Linked DNA regions of Homo sapiens: regions 2, 3, 4 and 5 are each linked to region 1. The links are contacts of gene promoters, found by promoter capture Hi-C in blood cells and fetal thymus (Javierre and others, 2016). All regions are on one chromosome and are shown on one strand. The core of a region is centred on a gene start or on the middle of the fragment in contact, and the rest is flanking DNA. Distances in the headings are between cores, read along the strand shown.

Region 1 (2,700 bases), core at 7-2,506:
CTGCTGCCCCAGTCTCTGGATTGTGAGGGCTGTTGTCAAACAGGTTACTAGGAGAGGAATATGTATAAATTAGCTCAAATTCAAGGTTATGCTTGTAATGTCACCTGAGTGGGAAGTAAGAGGGTGGAGTCACAGGCACTCAGCTGGGATTTACCTGGCCTCGTCACTAGACTAATGGGATTGTGGCACAGGTGAACATCCCGTCATTGGAGAAGAAAGGCTGGATTGAAGGCCAGGTGGGGGAGGGGTGCTAGGCTGTGGGGTCAGGCCCTGGGCATGCTGGACCTGTTAGGTCACTGAACATCTGACTGGGCACCTGCCCAGATTTGTCCCTTCAGTTGAGGTGGGATTGGCAGCACTCCCCAGAAGGCGTGCAGTGCCGGGAGAGTGGAGGAGGGTCTGACGTTTGCTATCCTGTGGTAGGTTTTAGAGCTAACTAGATGCTTGTGGAGAGCTAATGACATGGGAAGAAGGCAGCCCACCTTGATGGACCGGAGGGTTAGAGCCTGCGATGTGAGAAGCGGGTGTGTGGAGGTGGCCTGTCTACAAGAGGGCAAGTTTAAGGCCCATTGCAGTGGCACTATCTCAGCTCACTGCAGCTGGTGGCTGCCAGGCCATCCCTCTCCAGAGCAGGGAGGCCCTCAGCCTTATGTATAATTGAATGCCTTTTGGGATGCTTGGATAGTCCTTTATGTCTTGGAAATTCAGAAAAGAAAAAAAAAATTACAATCCTCCTGTCTGTTAGTTTCCCTGAGCCAACTGGATAAAAGATGTCCCTGACCCCAAGATTTTAAGTGACACCCAAGGGAAGCCACCGTTACCTTGGCTGTTGAAGCCTCCTGCATGCTCCCCAAAAACCCCAGCAGTTTCCTCTGCAGTCCCACAGTTATGTCCTGAGCAGTGGGGTACCGTGTGATGAGAGGTGCTAAGGATGGGATGAGGGTCTTTCCTGTGTTATTAGAACGGTTAAAAAGTTGTTTTAAAGGTGCCCAAATGCCCTCCTTCTTAAACTTAATTAGCTAATAAGATGCCTTATACAAGCAAAACCAGGTACGGGAAAGCAAGTGCATTTCAAGTCCAAGCTCACCCCTTAAATTAGCTGTAATACCCTCAGCAGGTGGCCCCACCTCAATGAGCCTGTCTCCCATTCAAAAAGCAGAACGAGTGAGAGGGCGGGGCCTGGAGCTTTACCCAATCAGTGGCGTCGGAGTGGAAATCCTCCAATCGGGAGTAGCCGGAGAGCAGGGGCGGCTTCCGGGATTTGGCGGTGGCCTTTGTTGGCTGCAGTAAGAGCTCAGTCTCTTCACCAGGGGCTCCCAGTCCTTCCATCTGGGAGGCCAAGGCGGCTTCGCGTTCTGAGAATAGACAGAACCTCTGTTACTCTGTGACCGGCAGGCACCGGGAGATCCGTAGCTCAGACGCCAGGACATCCCGGAAGCTGGGAAATGGTGAATGTGCCAGGTCGGGGGTCCCCAGAAGAGGGAGAGGGGCGGTCGGAAGCGGCGGGAACCCTCTTTGAGGTTAGCTTCGGGGTCTGGGCCCTGAGTCCCCGCGGACGCAACTCGGCCCTTGGTCCCCTCCGCCGCAAGATGGCGGCCGGGCCGGCAGCCGGGACCCCGCGCGTCCGGTCCCCTCCCGACCCCGCAGAGCGACCTCTGCCATGGCCGGAGCCGTCTTTGGGTCGCCGCAGCCCGGCGTCTCCCGAGATTGTGCGGTGAGAACGTGAGGGTCTTAGGGGAAATCCCGGGTCGGCGTGTGATTCGTGTGTGGGAAGATACTGTGCCCCGTGGTGTCCCAGTCTCCTTTTTCCTCTTACAAATTAAGGGGAGTCACCCTTAAAGCGTTAAAGGGTTGATTTAGGTAAACAGCGATTGGTGAAATGGGAAGCCTGCCGCCGTGGTTTGTGGTTTAGGGTCCTCTGGAGCAGCGATTTCAAAATCCCAGGGCTCAGCTTAGGAATGCTGCTGGGGAAAAGAAATAGGGACAATCTCTCTTCCACTTTGGCTGTAGAAAACGAATACATTTCCACAGAAAGTGTGCTAGATTAATTGGTCAATTACAAACATTCATTAAAATATCAGGTCCTCTCTTTTGCAGTGGAGGATTTGTGACAGTGGATATCTGTGTTCCATATTCTACTGCTATCTGGATGTCCGACTTTAATGCCAAATGTTATGAGACAGGACTTGGCACCTCCTAGAAGTGTTCACATATACTAAATGATCTGCTATTATGGAAATAATTAAATGACATGTTTCTTGCTCGAAAGAGGTATTTTGGCCTTACCTGTTGAAGTATAAAGTGTAAGTGCCTTACAGTTTCCTTCCTTTCTATAAAAACTGTTTTGAGTGATTTTGCTATTTTCCTGAAACCTGTTAGGTCACTGAACATCTGACTGGCTGGGCACCTGCTCCTGTCCCTTCAGTTGAGGTAGGATTGGCAGCACTCCCCAGAAGGCGTGCAGTGCCAGGAGAGTGGAGGAAGGTCTGACGTTTGCTATCCTGGGGTAGGTTTTAGAGCTCGCTAGATGCTTGTGGAGAGCTGATGAGATGGGAAGAAGGCACCCCACCTCGATGGACCTGAAAGAGAGAGCCTGCGAATTGAGAAGCGGGTGTGTGGAATAACCCTGACTAGGCATAGAAGACCTCAGTCTTATTTGAGCCTGCAAAAGGAGGTCATTGAAGGCCCAGTTAGTTCTTC
Region 2 (2,700 bases), core at 112-2,611, 380 kb before region 1:
AGTGGAGCCGTTCGAGGTCCCCAACCCCCTGCCGCTCATCGTGGGCAGCTCTGTCGGGGGACTGCTGCTCCTGGCCCTCATCACCGCCGCGCTGTACAAGGTGCTCCCCGCTGCTCCCCCACCCCCTCCCTTCATCCTCTCGGGCCTCGCGCTGCAGCTCCGTGCCTCGGTTTCCCCGGCGGGGCTGCCAGCTGTGTGACTGGGGCGAGTCTGGGAGCCTCTCTGCGCCTCAGTCTCTTAGGGAGGGTGGCCGGGTTCATGCGCGGGGCGCGCTGAGAACGAGTCGCCCTCCTTGTAGTTTCTGTTTTTCTCCAGGCCCCGACGCGGATGTCACTCCCCTCCCGCCCCGCCCTCCTGGGTCCCTTCTGTCTCTGCCGGCCCTCCCGCCCCCTCCCCCTGGTCTGCGGAGCCGCACGCTCCCTGGCTGCTGTCGCTCTCACTGCCCTCCTCTGCCCCGCAGCTCGGCTTCTTCAAGCGGCAATACAAGGACATGATGAGTGAAGGGGGTCCCCCGGGGGCCGAACCCCAGTAGCGGCTCCTTCCCGACAGAGCTGCCTCTCGGTGGCCAGCAGGACTCTGCCCAGACCACACGTAGCCCCCAGGCTGCTGGACACGTCGGACAGCGAAGTATCCCCGACAGGACGGGCTTGGGCTTCCATTTGTGTGTGTGCAAGTGTGTATGTGCGTGTGTGCAAGTGTCTGTGTGCAAGTGTGTGCACATGTGTGCGTGTGCGTGCATGTGCACTTGCACGCCCATGTGTGAGTGTGTGCAAGTATGTGAGTGTGTCCAAGTGTGTGTGCGTGTGTCCATGTGTGTGCAAGTGTGTGCATGTGTGCGAGTGTGTGCATGTGTGTGCTCAGGGGCGTGTGGCTCACGTGTGTGACTCAGATGTCTCTGGCGTGTGGGTAGGTGACGGCAGCGTAGCCTCTCCGGCAGAAGGGAACTGCCTGGGCTCCCTTGTGCGTGGGTGAAGCCGCTGCTGGGTTTTCCTCCGGGAGAGGGGACGGTCAATCCTGTGGGTGAAGACAGAGGGAAACACAGCAGCTTCTCTCCACTGAAAGAAGTGGGACTTCCCGTCGCCTGCGAGCCTGCGGCCTGCTGGAGCCTGCGCAGCTTGGATGGAGACTCCATGAGAAGCCGTGGGTGGAACCAGGAACCTCCTCCACACCAGCGCTGATGCCCAATAAAGATGCCCACTGAGGAATGATGAAGCTTCCTTTCTGGATTCATTTATTATTTCAATGTGACTTTAATTTTTTGGATGGATAAGCTTGTCTATGGTACAAAAATCACAAGGCATTCAAGTGTACAGTGAAAAGTCTCCCTTTCCAGATATTCAAGTCACCTCCTTAAAGGTAGTCAAGATTGTGTTTTGAGGTTTCCTTCAGACAGATTCCAGGCGATGTGCAAGTGTATGCACGTGTGCACACACACCACACATACACACACACAAGCTTTTTTACACAAATGGTAGCATACTTTATATTGGTCTGTATCTTGCTTTTTTTCACCAATATTTCTCAGACATCGGTTCATATTAAGACATAAATTACTTTTTCATTCTTTTATACCGCTGCATAGTATTCCATTGTGTGAGTGTACCATAATGTATTTAACCAGTCTTCTTTTGATATACTATTTTCATTCTCTTGTTATTGCATCAATGCTGAGTTAATAAATCAAATATATGTCATTTTTGCATATATGTAAGGATAATTTATAGGATATGTTCCTGGAAGTTTGGGTTCTCCCAGAAGCAAACCCAAGAATTTGGGTGAAACAAGCGTATTTAAGAGGTGGCAGGCCAGGCATGGTGGCTCACACCTGAAATCCCAGCATTTTGGGAGGTGAAGGTGTGAAGATTGCTTGAGCTCAGGAGTTCGAGACTAGCCTGGGCAACATAGTGAGAACCTGTGTCCACGAAAAATTAAAAAAATTTAGCCAGGCCTGGTGTTACATGCCTGTAGTCACAGCTACTCCGGAGGCTGATGCAGGAGGATTACTTGAGCCCAGAAGGTCTAGACTGCAGTGAGCCATGATCGCACCACTGCACTCCAGCCTGGGTGACAGAGTGAGATCCTGTCTCAAAAATAAACAAAATAATAAAATAAAGGTCGGGCACAGTGGCTCACGCCTCTGTAATCCCAGAACTTTGGGAGGCCGAGGCTGGTGGATCACCTGATCTCAGGAGTTTGAGACCAGCCTGTCGAACTTGGTGAAACCCCGTCTCTACTAAAAATACAAAAAAATTAGCCATGCATGGTGGCAGGCAACTGTAATCTCAGCTACTTGGGAGGCTGAGGAAGGAGAATTGCTTTAACCTGGGAGGTAGAGGTTGCAGTGAGATATGATTGCATCACTGCACTCCAGCCTGGGCGACAGAGCAGGACTCCATCTTAAAAAAAAAAAAATAAATAAAATAAAATAAAATAAAGAGATGGCTCCAGGAAATACCGAGGAAGGGAAGGCTGCCAATAACAGGTGTATCACCCACAGAGAAGCTGCTGTGAGTTCCTGGAGCTTCACCCCACTGGGCAGTTCTCGGAGGCAGTGCAGAACACGCACCTCAGTATCACCCCACCCAGGGGAGAAGGCTGGAGCGCATAGACACCGATTCCACTTAGCTATTGGATGAGGGCTGCTCTTGGTGGGGAGAGTGTGTTAATTTCCTACCACTTCTGGCCTGCCCTGAGTGTGAG
Region 3 (2,700 bases), core at 1-2,500, 360 kb before region 1:
TCTAAAATGAAAATGTGAAGATCTCAGTCCCCATGAATTCCCTTCAATGCTGTCCTCCACTCTCAGGACAAAATCAATGTGTCTTCACCAGGTGTGGTGGCTCACACCTGTGATCCCAGCAATTTAGGAGGCTGAGGCAGGAGGATTGATTGAGATCAGGAGTTTGAGACCAGCCTGGCCAACATGGGGAAACTCTGTCTCTACTAAAATTAAAAAATATATATATATAAATATATATATATATTCAGGTGCAGTGGTGCAATCCTATAGTCCTGGCTACTCAGGAGGCTGAGGCAGGAGGATCCCTTGGGCCCAGGAGTTCGAAGCAGCAGTGAACTATGCACCCACTGCACTCCAGCCTGGGTGGCAGAGCAAGACCCTGTTTCTGAAATTAAAAAAAAAAATTGATGTACATTAGGGGGGCTTCCACGGCCTGAGGCCTGCTTCCCCTTGCTTTCCTCCCAGTGGCCCTGACCTTGTCTCTTACAACTTCCCACCCTGACTGTCTGGTTCCCATTGCTGATTTCACACACAGACCCTCCTGTCCCCTGCCTCATCCATGTCTGGCTGCTCTGTCATCTCCCAACTTTGGTTGCTTTCAATGCTCAGCTCAAGCACCACCTCTTTCAGGAAGCCTTCTCAGAAAGCCACACCTTCACAACCCGGGTGAGGCACCCTGTGGTCTCTGTGCTTCCCCCTCACAGCAATGAACTTGCTGTTTATACATCTGCCTCTCCACTGACCCCAGGGCTGGTGCTTTGTGGTTTATATTTTCTTCCCCACCTAGCAGAGGGCTTGCATCTCCAGGCTCAAATTAGGCTTCTTGAATAAATGATGAATAAATGAGTGAATGAATGAATGAACAAATACTCGCTCTGTGCTCCTCCTAGGGACCCGGATGCCCCACTCCTTGGCCCAGACTTTCCAGGTCAGAGTGGAGGGCTCCCACCAGGGTTTCCTTTAGGGTCCTGAGGGGTTGGCATCTGCCCAAACCCCCTCCAGTCTGGCTGAAATTTCAAGGTCAAGGGGTGCCTTCTGGCAGTCAAGGGTGAGCCTGGGAGGGGCAGGGCAGGGATTTGCATCCATCTAAGCAAAGGGCATCAAGCCAAGTCATCTGATGAGAGTGACTCCGGTTGGGGGGTGGGGGCGTGTGGGAGGCCGAGCCTGTCCTCGGATCAGTTGCGTACTCTGCCCGCCCCCTCTGACTCATGCTGACAATCTTCTTCCTTCCCCTGGCCACCTCTCTGCCCACTTGCTTCCTCAGTACCTTGGTCCAGCTCTTCCTGCAACGGCCCAGGAGCTCAGAGCTCCACATCTGACCTTCTAGTCATGACCAGGACCAGGGCAGCACTCCTCCTGTTCACAGGTGAGCCTGGACCCCAATGAAGTAGGGCTGGGGACCCAGGCCCAAGGGAGCCAGGGCCCTGAACTGGGGGCTCAGGCTGGGGGGTTAGGATCTGGGTAGGAAGAGAGACTCAGTCAAGCCTGAGGGGGAGGCAGGCACATAGGGTCTGAGATTTGGAGTTTGTGGAGGGAGAGGATATTGATGAACCAATTTTGGGAGAGTTCCAGAGATGCTGGAAGAGAGGCCAGTTGTCTCTGTACTGCAGAGATTTTTAAAATAGGCAGAATGCGCCAACTTGTGCTCTGTGGACAGGATGCTTTGGTCCGCAAGTTTTCCTGGACTCACTCTCATAGCGCCCGAGGTGCACGTTGGGGAAAGATCCTTTTTAGAGCCTGGGTACTGCTCTGCAGAAATGGAGAACTGCAACTCGATAGTGGATGGTGGGCAAGGGGCATCCCTGGACCCTGGGAAGGAGAGAAGGGGATGAGTTGGGTGTCCAGAAGACCCAGGCACCCCGGGCATCAGGCTCGGAGGGGAGATTGGGACGCTGGGGCCGGGGGTGGAGGGCAGCCAGGCAGAAGGAAGACCCTTCTCCAAAGCTCTCTTCCCACCTCTTTCCCAGCCTTAGCAACTTCTCTAGGTTTCAACTTGGACACAGAGGAGCTGACAGCCTTCCGTGTGGACAGCGCTGGGTTTGGAGACAGCGTGGTCCAGTATGCCAACTCCTGGTGAGGCCCAGGTGGTGCTGGCCTTTGGCTCCATCCATCCTCTCCCTGCTCAGGGCCCCATGCCCCCGGCCCTGCCCTGTTATTTGCAAACTCTCCTCTCTGTCTGGTGTAGCGACTGCCCTGGCTAATGAAGATTTGCCTTGAAGGCAGGCACGGTCTCACAGCTAACATTTACAGAGCAGTAAGTGCAGTGCCAGGCTCATCACAGGTGGATGCTGATTTAGTCCACACGACAGCCTGTGAGTAGGAATCAGTCGTGCAACAAACACTTATTTGTTTTTTCTTTCTTTTTTTCTATACATTTAAAAATATATAGAGACAGGGTCTCACTATGTTGCCTGGGTTGGTCTCAAACTCCTGGGCTCAAGCAATCCTCCCGCCTCAGCCTCCCAAAGTGCTGGGATTCCAGGTGTGAGCCACCACACCCAGACTCAACAAATATTTCTTGTCTCCATACGCCAGAGAATCCAACAGACAGAAATCCCTTCCACATGGACTTTAAATTATTAAAATCCATCTTGCAGATGAGGAAGCTGAGGCTCAGGGAGGGAACGCAAACTTGCCGGAGTGGCAGCTGTGCTGCAGCGTCCACACTCTTACCTAAAGTGTTCTTTGTCTCCTCGCAGG
Region 4 (2,700 bases), core at 80-2,579, 470 kb before region 1:
AATTTATGTTCAGAGATTGCAGTAAAGACAGGCATAAGAAATTATGAAAGTATTAATTTGGGAAACTAATAAATGTCCATGAAATCTTCACAATTTATGTTCTTCTGCCATGGCTTCAGCTGGTCCCTCCATTAGGGGTTCCGGGCTTCCCACAACAGAAGAGGTCTTGCTATATTATCGGTCTTGAACTCCTAGCTTCAAGTGATCCTCCCACCTCAGCCCCGCAAAGTCCCAGTGTGAGCCACTGCACCCAGCCTGGTTACATAACTTCCATGTGCCTCAGTTTCTTCATCTGCAAAATGGGGCTAGAATACCTTCTTCATAGGATTTCTATGAAGGGTCAGTGAGTGAACACATGCTAATCACTTAGAACCATGTCTGGCACAGAGTAAATTCTCAATCAGTGTCAGTTTTTATTATGTATTATTATTATTATTGTAAAATACAGTATGTCATTATAGTATGTATTGACTATTTGTTCTACATTTTCAATTTTCAAGAATTAGGCACTTTTAGTTATATTTTCAGTATTTTCTGTTTTTACCTTAATCTATCATTTCTGATTTTACCTTAATCAGGGATGTGGTATGTATCATTTCTGCCTTTCTGTGGCATGAAATTGGAATGGTATTTGTGAAATGAGTTTTAGTGCTTAAAAAGCTTTATTTATTTATTTTTTTGAGACAGAGTGTTGCTCTGTCGCCCAGGCTGGAGTGCAGTGGTGCGATCTCGGCTCACAGAAACCTCTGCCTCCCAGGCTCAAGCGATTCTAATGCCTCAGCCTCCCAAGTAGCTGGGATTACTTAAAGGCATGTGCTACTATGCCTGGCTAATTTTTGTATTTTTAGTGGAGATGGGGTTTTGCCATGTTGGCCAGGCTGGTCTCAAACTCCTGGCCTCAAGTGATCCATCCTCCCTGGCCTCCCAAAGTGCTGGGATTACAGGCGTGAGCCACCACACACCCACACACAGCCTATTCATCTTTTTTTTTAAAGACAGGATCTTGCTCTGTTGCCCAGGCTGGAGTGCAGGAGTGCAGTACATCATAGCTCACTGCAGCCTTGAACTCCTAAGCTCAAGCCATCCTCCTGCCCTTGACCCTCCAAGTAGCTGGCACTACAGGCATGACATACATCTATTAATGCTACCTTATTAGCTGTGTCGTTCACATCAACCAGTTAATTTGCATGTCTATAACTACATCTGAATTTGTGCGCGCTCTCTCTCTTTTTTTTTTTTTTTTTTTACGGAGTCTTGCTTTGTCCCCCAGGCTGGAGTGCAGTGACATGATCTCAGCTCACTGCAACCTCCGCCTTCTGGGTTCAAGTGATTCTCCTGCCTCAGCCTCCCGAGTAGCTGGGACTACAGGTGCTCGCCACCATGCCCGGCTAATTTTTGTATTTTTTAGTAGAGATGGGGTTTCACCATGTTGGCCAGGATGGTCTTGATCTCTTGATCTTGTGATCCGCCCGCCTTGGCGTCCCAAAGTGCTGGGATTACAGGCGTGAGCCACCGCACCCCGCCAGCATTCTTTGTCTTGTCCACAGCTGAAGTTTCCATTATTTATTTATTCAACCAAACTTCATCAAACTCCTTTTTAATGTAGCACATACCATGCTCAGTCTTAGGCGTATGCATTTGGATAATTCAAAATTGTTGCCTTCAAAAAGCTATAGTGAGAGAAATAACCTCATAAACAATAAGATCACAGTGTGAGGACTGCTAATAGAGCTGTGTGTAACAGAGCTTGGGGTTAAGCAGGAAAATTAGGGCAGGCTTCTCAGAAGAGGTGACAACTTGAGTTGGCCCTTGGAGAGCAAGTAGGAGTTTCTAAGGAAAACAAAAAGAAGCAGAAGGATGGTATTCCAGACACACCCAATAGTCAATTGTACTATTAGTTTGATGCAAACGTAATTGCGGTTTTGGCCATGACTTTAATTACTTTAGTTACATTTGCACCCACCTAATAATTATCTGAAACTGCATGACAAATGACCCTAAGCTTAGAGGCTTAAAACAACAGTAATCATTTCTTATCTCCCTTGATTTCTTTTCTTAAATTTAAAAAAATTTTTGGCCGGGTGCAGTGGCTCACATCTGTAATCCCAGCACCACAGTAGCAAAAATAGCTGCAGTGGTTCCAGGTTTTACATCACACTAGGAGGAGAAAAAACATCTTTGTCCTGAGATCCACTTTGATTAGACACATGCCCACACTTGAACCAACGACTTATGTCAGAGCGATAGAATAGTTGGATTGTCTTAGTGTAGTTCACATGCTCCACCCTCAGACCTGGGGCAAAGTCAGTTCTTCCCAAACCACGTAGTCCTCCAAGTGGAAATTGAGAGTCGCTGGGAAGGGGGAAACTGGATGCTGGGGAGATAACCACAAGTGTCCACACAAACTCAATTGTGATGTGGTTCATCTAAGCAACACTCAGTGAGCCCCAGCCAGATAAGGTGCTGGGTCCTGGGATAAAGCCATGAGCAGGACATAGTCACTGCTCTCAAGGCAGCCATTGTTTATCACCCCCCAAGAACGTAAGCTCCTTAAAGGTAGGGAGGTTTCCTCTCTCGTTCACATCCATTTCCCTGAGCCTGGAGCAGCACCTGGCACATAGTTAATACCTGTTGAATGAAGAGTCTAGTGGAAAGATGGGCATAATCTCCAAGTCATCACACCATATACAGTTTAATGCT
Region 5 (2,700 bases), core at 88-2,587, 260 kb before region 1:
CAAATTGAATCATAGAACTAAAAGTTAGGACTCTTAGAATCTTTATAACTTTGAATTAAGCAATGCTTTCTTAGATATGACACCAAAAGCACAAGCAACAAAAGAAAAAAATACAGAAACTGAACACCATCAAAATTGAAACCTCTTGCGCTTCATATGACATTATTCTTTAATTTTTTTCTTTTTCTTTCCAAATACCCAGACGTCAGGGAGATTCACAGGACATTATTAAGAAAAAGAGAAGATAAAAAAGAAAAGGAGAAGATAACCCACAGAGCAGGTAAAAATCTTTGCTAATCATATATCTGGGAAGGGATTTGTACCTAGACTGTATAAAGAACTATTGCAACTCAATGATAAAAAAGACAAATAATCCAATTTAAAAATGGAATTAGGCTGGGCACGGTGGCTCACGCCTGTAATCCCAGCACTTTGGGAGGCTGAGGTGGGCGGATCACCTGAGGTCAGGAGTTTGAGAACAGTCTGGACAACATGGTGAAACCCTGTCTCTACTAAAAGTACAAAAATTAGCCAGGCATGGTGGCATGTGCCTGTAATCCCAGCTACTCGGGAGGCTGAGACAGGAGAATCACTTGAACCCGGGAGGCAGAGGTCACAGTGAGAAGAGATCACGCCACTGCACTCCAGCCTAGGCGAGAGAGCAAGACTCAGTCTCAAAAAACAAAAAAAGGAAAGAAAGAAAGAAATCAGTCGAGTGTGGTGGCCTGCACCTCTAGTCCCAGCTACTCGGAAGGCTGAGAATCACTTGAACCATGGAGGTGGAGGCTGCAGTAAGCCGAAATTGTGCCACTGCACTCCTGGGCAACAGAGGAGTCCTTGTCTCAAGAAAAAGAAAGAAAAAGAAAAAAAATTAAATGGGCAAATGACTTGAATAGACAGTTCAAAGAAGTTATATAAATGGCCAATAATTACATGAAAAGATCCTCAACATCATTAGTCCTCAGAAAAATGCAAATCAAAACTACAACGAGGTGCCACATCATACATATTAGGATGGTGATAATAAAAAAGACAGGTAATTACGCCAGTAGTGGCGGCTCATGCCTGTAATCCCATCACTTTGAGAGGCTGAGGTGGGCGAATCACCTGGGCTCAGGAGTTCGAGACCAGCCTGGTGAACATGGTGAAACCTAGTCTGTACTAAAAACACACAAAAAATTAGCCAGGCATGGTGGCGGGTGCCTGTAGTCCCAGCTACTCAGGAGGCTGAGGCAGGAGAATCACTTGAACCTGGCAGGTGAAGGCTGAAGTGAGCTGAGATCACGCCACTGCACTCCAGCCTGGGAAACAGATGGAGACTCTATCTCAAATAATAATAACATTATTATTATTTTTAAAAATAATATTTAAAAAACATTAAAATTTTTTTTTTAAATAATATTTTTAAAAATGATATTTTTTAAATGATAATATTTACAGGCAGTGGCTCACACTTGTAATCCCAGCACTTTGGGAGGCCGAGGTGGGCGGATCACCTGAGCTCAGGAGTTTGAGACCAGCCTGGCCAACTTGGTGAAACCCTGTCTCTACTAAAAATACAAACATTTGCTGGGCGTGGTGACAGGCGCCTATAATCCCAGTCACTTGGGAGGCTGAGGCAGGAGAATCACTTGAACCTGGGAGGCGTAGGTTGCAGTGAGCTGAGATCACGCCACTGCACTCCAGCCTGGTGACAGAGTGAGATTCCGACTCAAAAAAAAAAAAGCTGAAAAGACAGTTAATTAACAAGTTTTTGTGAGAATGTGGAGAGATTGGAACCCTCACACATGGCTGGTTGGAACGTAAAATCATTCATTAACTTTGGAAAATGGTCTGGCAGTTCCTCAGATGTTTAAACATAGAGTTATATGATCCAGCAATTTCCCTTCTAGATATGTAACCAAAAGAAATAAAAGCATATTCCACAAAAACCTTGTACGTGAGTATTCATAGCAGCATTATTCATAATAGCCCGAGTGGAAACAACCCAAATGTCTGTCAACTGATGATTGAAGAAAGTGGCATATCCATGTCTTAGTCTGTTTTGTGCTGCATCGTAGAATGCCTAAGGCTGGATAATTTATAAAGAATAGAAATATCTTTCTTTCAGTTCTAGAGGTTGGGAAGTCGAAGGTCAAGGGCCCTGCATCTGGTGAGGGCCTTCTTTCTGCCTCATCCCACAGCAGAAAGCGGAAGGGCAAGACAGTGCAAGAGAGGGGGTGGGTGGGGGCAGAACCCATCCATTTATCTATCAGCTGTCCACTCCCTTGATAACTAACCTACTCATGCAATAATGCCATTAATCCATTCATGAGGGAAGAGCTCACATAACCTAATCACTTCTTAAAGTTCCCACCTCTCAACAGTTGAATTGGAGGTTAAGTTTCCAACACATGAACTTTAGGGGACAGGTTCAAACCACAGCAATCCATAAAGTGAAACTGTATTATTCCTAATAAAAAGAAATGAGATACTACAGTGTGGATGAACCTTGATAACATTATGCTATATGAAAGAAGCCAGACACGAATGACCACACATTGTATGATTCCATTTATATGACATGTCCAGAATAGGTCATCTGTAGAGATAAGATGTAGATTAGTGGTTGCCTAGGGTTGGGGTATAGGGGGTGTTATGGACTGAATGTTTGTATCGCCCCCAAATTTATACATTGTTTAACCCCCAGTGTGACTGTAT

What was found. Contacts are between HindIII fragments. The CHiCAGO score rates a contact against its expected background, and 5 or more counts as called.
Region 2: a contact is called between a fragment that was not itself captured here and the fragment with the promoter of KRABD5 in region 1, in 1 of 17 cell types (erythroblasts). The highest score is 6.9, in erythroblasts.
Region 3: a contact is called between the fragment with the promoter of ITGAX here and the fragment with the promoter of KRABD5 in region 1, in 1 of 17 cell types (erythroblasts). The highest score is 6.5, in erythroblasts.
Region 4: a contact is called between a fragment that was not itself captured here and the fragment with the promoter of KRABD5 in region 1, in 1 of 17 cell types (erythroblasts). The highest score is 6.0, in erythroblasts.
Region 5: a fragment that was not itself captured here is called in contact with the fragment with the promoter of KRABD5 in region 1 in 3 of 17 cell types (erythroblasts, non-activated CD4 T cells and megakaryocytes); the score reaches 5.9 in erythroblasts.

Annotation. Positions count from the first base shown.
Region 1 is chr16:31,711,988-31,714,687 of GRCh38, forward strand. KRABD5 (KRAB domain containing 5) reads left to right here and starts at 1,257. Exons shown (of 5, transcript NM_001130913.2): 1 at 1,257-1,448. The coding sequence starts at 1,446. RefSeq lists enhancers at 1,424-1,543, 2,668-2,700 and a silencer at 1,634-1,693. The HindIII fragment of the contact is 15,701 bases long and covers 1-2,700 here.
Region 2 is chr16:31,331,176-31,333,875 of GRCh38, forward strand. It overlaps ITGAM (integrin subunit alpha M), which reads left to right. Exons shown (of 30, transcript NM_000632.4): 29 at 1-100; 30 at 461-1,702. The coding sequence ends at 532. Among named protein-coding and RNA genes, the nearest start is that of ITGAX, 23 kb to the right of the region's middle. RefSeq lists a silencer at 303-382. The HindIII fragment of the contact is 184 bases long and covers 1,270-1,453 here.
Region 3 is chr16:31,353,926-31,356,625 of GRCh38, forward strand. It overlaps ITGAX (integrin subunit alpha X), which reads left to right and starts at 1,251. Exons shown (of 30, transcript NM_000887.5): 1 at 1,251-1,366; 2 at 1,968-2,073; 3 at 2,700. The coding sequence starts at 1,330. RefSeq lists enhancers at 513-642, 833-1,022. The HindIII fragment of the contact is 18,983 bases long and covers 1-2,700 here.
Region 4 is chr16:31,246,286-31,248,985 of GRCh38, forward strand. No RefSeq gene overlaps it. Among named protein-coding and RNA genes, the nearest start is that of ITGAM, 12 kb to the right of the region's middle. RefSeq lists an enhancer at 1-111. The HindIII fragment of the contact is 1,342 bases long and covers 659-2,000 here.
Region 5 is chr16:31,446,995-31,449,694 of GRCh38, forward strand. No RefSeq gene overlaps it. Among named protein-coding and RNA genes, the nearest start is that of ZNF843, 5.6 kb to the left of the region's middle. The HindIII fragment of the contact is 6,267 bases long and covers 1-2,700 here.